Linked DNA regions of Homo sapiens: region 2 is linked to region 1. Evidence: promoter capture Hi-C in human tissues and cell types (Jung and others, 2019). All regions are on one chromosome and are shown on one strand. The core of a region is centred on a gene start or on the middle of the fragment in contact, and the rest is flanking DNA. Distances in the headings are between cores, read along the strand shown.

Evidence for each region. The method cuts DNA at HindIII sites, captures the fragments that hold promoters and counts their contacts. A contact is called where the count stands out against the background at its distance.
Region 2: a contact is called between a fragment that was not itself captured here and the fragment with the promoter of SRSF12 in region 1, in 2 of the 25 tissues and cell types used here (aorta and liver).

What each region holds. Positions count from the first base shown.
Region 1 is chr6:89,116,645-89,119,344 of GRCh38, forward strand. SRSF12 (serine and arginine rich splicing factor 12) reads right to left here and starts at 1,427. Exons shown (of 5, transcript NM_080743.5): 1 at 1,179-1,427. The coding sequence starts at 1,243. It also overlaps a transcript of PM20D2 not described here. RefSeq lists a silencer at 1,011-1,280. The HindIII fragment of the contact is 14,948 bases long and covers 1-2,700 here.
Region 2 is chr6:89,009,352-89,012,051 of GRCh38, forward strand. No RefSeq gene overlaps it. Among named protein-coding and RNA genes, the nearest start is that of RNGTT, 47 kb to the left of the region's middle. The HindIII fragment of the contact is 3,357 bases long and covers 1-2,700 here.

The sequences.
Region 1 (2,700 bases), core at 177-2,676:
CACGCCTGTAATCCCATCTACTTTGGATGCTGAGGCAGGAGAATCGCTTGAACCCGGGAGGCAGAGGTTGCAGCCAACCAAGATCGGGCCATTGTACTCCAGCCTGGGGGACAAGAGCGAGACTTTGTCTAAAAAAAAAAAAAAAACTAAAAAATAAAAAATACTTAACGTTTATTTACTCCTCAAAGGTAAATTATAATACTCATCTCAGATGACTATGGAGTCAAGAGCTCCATGTATCTATACCTCTCTGGCCCCAGGTAAATCATTAAAACTCTTAGTTTCCGCTCTCCCTTATGTACAATAAAACAGTACTGCATAGGTAGAAAGGCTGGGGGGAAGTAAATGAAGCCCAGTGAAATGAGAATGTCTATTAACACCGTTCCCTCTCCCCCCGCCCCCAATTTCTTCAGCTCCATTAAGGAAGGAAGTGCTATATGAAAAAGTCATTCCTTAGTATCTGTGTTCAGACACTCTGTAGACAAAATTCTCAACGGAGGGGTGGGGCATCAGAATCAACCAGGTGAGCCTATACTCACGCCCTTAAAAAGGGTGTTAATACTGGACTCAGAACTTTAAAGAAAAACGCACTGATCTCATTCATTGAAGTTATTTTTTGTATGCAGAATAAAATTGTGTGAATAAAATGCAAGCAGCACCGTCTGTAAGTAGACCAGAACTGGGGGAAAGAAACTGTAAGGCCCGAGTACGCATTATGGTACAAAACGTTCTCACCAGCCCCAATTCCTCTCCATCTAGGAGGGTTGGATGCGCGCGATTTTATCGGGGCACGGCGACAAAGGAGCTGAAACGCGGGCACTCGCTGGAGCGCAAACCCTCCCGACTCCCGGCGGGGAGCGACCTGAGCTCGGGAGAGGGGCGCCCCGTGTCCCACGGCCCGCCGGCTGCGGTGCTGAACCGCGGAAAGCGACGCGGGCCCGGGACACGATGTGCGCGGCGCCGGGGCTGAAAGCTGGCCGGGAGGGCGGAGGCGCGAGTTCCGCCCTGGGCCGCGGAGTAGTCCGAGGGCTCACACCTCCCCAAGTGGCGCAGCCTGGGCCCGCGGGGAGGCTCCGCGCAGCTCCCCCGAGCCTCCGCCGGGCCTCGGCCGTGCTCCGCGGCGCGGCTGTTACCCCGCCCCTCCTCCGCGCCCCCAACCTGCAGCCGCGGCCGTTCACCTGGTGGCGTCCGCGACGTTCCTGATGAACAGGGAGGTGTTGGGGGGCCTCGTGTAGCGAGACATGACCGCTTCCTCCGTTCCCTCCGGGTCTGCCCGCGGCCGCTGGACTCGCTCCGTCTCCCGCTACCGCTGCTACCACCACAGGAGCTCCGCCGGCCCCCGGCGCGACCCCCACCCCTCGGCCTCAGCCCCGCCAGCGCGCAGCCGCAGAGGCCGGCGCAGAGGGGGCGCAGCGCGGCGCCAGCCTGGACGCACGGGCCGGGGGCGGGGGCGGCGCCGGCGCGGCCCAGGGGCCGCGGGAATTCCGAAGACAGGAGCGCGGCCGTTCCCAGGCCCTATGGGATCCGGGTATGGGGGGTCCTGGAGTGCGACGGGATTTGGGGAGGGGGCGGCGAGGGCCAGTGTATGTCAGGAGGGCGGAGGCCAAGAGGGGGCTTGAGGCCGCGGCGGGGACGCCGGGGGTTAGAGGACCCAGAGGTGGTGGCGGGGCTGCGGCTGGGCGGAGGTGGGGTCAGTGAGAGCCGCTTTCAACCGCGCCCCCGCTCAGCCTCCGCGGCCCTCAGCGCATCGTCCTGAGCGCAGGACCTTGGCAGTTGGTAGGCCTCCTGCCCCTCTGGTCTTGAGCCTTCGGCTTTCCAACTGTGAGGTCTCGGTTTTGTTCGGATTTGTTTTTTTAATAGAGACGGGGTCTCGCTGTGTTGCCCAGGTGGTCTCAAACTCCTGGGCTCAAGCCTCTCCCGCCTCGGCCTTCCAAAGTGCTGGGATTACAGGTGTGAGCCACCGCGCCTGGCCTGTTGGATTTTTAAGTATTATATGATTCTTCATCCTTTATTCACTTGGGGCATAACACTCAGCTGTGAGTACATTCATTCAGATGTTTATTGAGCGTCTACTATGCGCCAGGCACTTAGCGTGGGATATAGCAATGAACAAACAGGCCAAGCCCCGCCCTCTGAGCTTACATTCTAGAGGGGGGACAAACGAATGTACAAATGAATACATGATGTAGAAGACAACAGTTTAAATGCAGGGACAGTTAAGCAAAATTTAAATTACCCTCTCCCTATTCCCCCAAAATGTTGTAGCCCATCCCCTTCTAGTTAGACTCGTCTTCGCCTTGCTCCTGTGGCCGGCAGGCACAGCCTGTTATTCAGGGCTGGGAGTGTAACCAGGCAACTCCTAAGTGTGAAGAGTGCCCCTTTTCGCTCGCAGAAGTGGTAGGCTTTGAAGAATACATGTCGTGGTCACCCTTCTAGCTCACAGCCCTCCCAGAGGCTGTGGAGGTTCCTGGGTCTGCAGCTGTACTGGAACGGTGGCTATTCTTTCATTCAGAAGGGATTGCTCTGGCACTGCAGGCACAGGGCTAGACTGGCACCGTGCCTATTCCCCTAGAGCTTAGAATTTGGTAGGGAGGCAGAATCTAACAATCACACTGGTAAAGATACAAACTATAATACAGGGCTATGAAAAGAACTATATGCTGCTGAGAGCAGGCATTGTGGGATGGTGAGCAAGGCTAG
Region 2 (2,700 bases), core at 7-2,506, 110 kb before region 1:
CCCCTGAAATATCATTATCTTGATCAGAAAAGAAAGTGAGGAATGCAACCACACCAACATGGACTTTGTCACAAGATAATGCCTGCCTGCCTCTCAGGCTCATTCAGATTCCAAAGAGAATCATCTATAAGTTAATTTCTATCTCCCTCATCCATTTATTCTAATGATCACTGCCTGCACCTCAAAAGAATTGTCTACATCCGCCACCTTTTTCCTCACCTATGAAAAATGTGATACAAGCTTCTGTACCCTGTTGGGATATGGGGTAATGACGATACAGGAGTTAAGAAGAAATCACTTAGGCAGATAGTAAGGATATGGGAGTCTTCAGTAAAGCTTTTCTTTTCAATGAAAAGCAGCCCCAAATCATTTTCTAACAAAGAGCAGCCTGTAAGGTTGAGCTGGGAGCTTGCACAGGTGAATACTGGCAGGAACTAGGAACCAGACATGTTCAAGATGGCAACTCCATCTTCCCTTCTCTTTCTCGGCCACATGTACTGTAAGGAGCAGATAAGATGGTGCCGGTCAACTGGAAAGCCCATTTGCGTAATAAGATTAGGATGGGGCAACCAGCCTTCCCTATGCAATATGTAAACGTCATACCTGATGGAACCAATCTGTGAGTCCTATGTAAATCAGACACCACTTCCTCAAACTGGACTATAAAATCTGGCACATTCACCATCAGCTGGTCCTTTGCACTAGGAGACCCCTTTCTCTATAGAGAGAGCTGTATCTCTTTCTCTTCTCTTCTGCCTTTTAAACGTCTGCTCCTAAACTCCTCGGGTGTGTCCGTGTCCTAAATTTTCCTGGCTCGCAACATCGAAACCCAGGGTATATACCCCAGACAATGTAGCAGCTTCAGTGACACTCTGGTTCCCACACACATGCACACACACACATTAATAAATCTGCCTTTTCTCCTATTAATCTGCCTTTTGTCTGTTGATTTTCAGCAAACTTTCAAAGAGCAAAGGGGAAGTTTCCCTTTTGCCCATACAGTTTTGGTACTGTGAGCAGGATACTTCTCTGCTCTTTTGGAAACTGCAGTCAAGGGAACCCAAGACCTAACAAGTCTGAAAAAAAGAGATTCTATCATAATAAGAAGGCTCCTCTGCTCTAACCCTTAACAAAAAGTAACCCTCCAGCTTGGGCAACACGGCAAAACCCCATCTCTACAAAATACACAAACATTACCCAGGCATGATGGTATGCACGTATAGTCCCAGCTACTGCAGGGGCTGAGGTGGGAGGATTGCTTGAGCCCAGGAGGTGGAGGTTGCAGTTAGCTGAGATCATGCCACTGCACTCCAGCCTGGGCAACATAGAAAGACCCTGTCTTAAAGAGAGATTTGAGCCCAAAGTCCATTTACAATGGTGAGAGCATAATGTCAATGCCTAAAGTTTTTGTCAATCTCTCAAAAATTAAGAAATTAGCCTAAAGGGGGAGAATTGTTAAATTTTTAAATTGTTAAAAGTTTTGCCTAAAGCTGCCTTCTTATGTATTTTGAGTATAGCCTAAAGGTTGCTCCATAGAGAGTGAACTGTAACCTAACTGGATATGTAAACAGATTGTAACCTACTCTTTTAACAAGTAGCCTAGTCTCAGCCAATCACAGGCAACTAACTGTTGTTCAAAGTGTGTTCAAATTAAGTCACATGTCAAGCTGTAACCAATCCAGCTATTTCCGTACCTCACTTCTGTTTTCTATATGTCACTTTCCTTTTTCTGTCCATAAATGTTATTTGACCATGTGGCTGCCCCAGTGTTGTTGTTACTCTGAACCTATTCTGGTTCTGGCGGCTGCCAGATTCATGAAACATTGTCTGTGTAATTAAACTCTGTTAAGTTTAATTTGTCTAAAGTTTTTCTTTTAACAACTTGTACCATCTATATTTCTCATTGCTGCCAGACTATCCAGGATGTTAAGATCATGATATTACAACATTTAGACATAGTTAATCAGATGTGTGTCTCTCCCAATATACAGCTAACCACCATAGACTGATGCAGCCCTCCTTATTTATGACAGCTCCTTTGTTACTCAAATTTGGCCAATCTCTGAAGTCTTGGATGCACACTGACTTTCAACAACCCCCCTCCATGGGACATAACACTTTAGAAACAGATGCTTCCAGCTCTGAGGGAAACAGATAATAACTCTGTGGCTGACCACCAATCATTGATCAGTGATGCTTCCTCATCCCCTATCTGGATCAATAGGGCAGAAATGTGAAATGTGATATACAAAATGGCATCACTCTGGTTCAGAGCTATAAAATGGCATCAGGAAGCCATTTTAAGAAGGACTTCCTGCATAACCTGCAACCCAGCAAAAAAAAAAAAAAAAAAAGGCAGAAACTTGCTTCGAACCTTTGAATTGGCCCAAATTGTAATGATCATGAATGTAAATATCCTGGAAAACAGCTTAACTTCACCAGCGCAGCAACTCCTGAACAGCAACAACCAATGAACTATAGACACACATACTAAGCCAGCCACCTCCACCAGTGAGAATTCTTTCAAAATAACTTGGGTAATCATCCTCAGCTTCCTTTAAAAAACCGTACTCCCTTCCCTCTCTTCAGAACAGTTTGGCTTGGAGCTGAATCTGTGTCTCCCGAATTGCAATTCTGAAGACCCCAACAAATGCCTGGCTTTACTGCTTTGCAGTCTGGTCTTTCACCTCTTCTTGATTG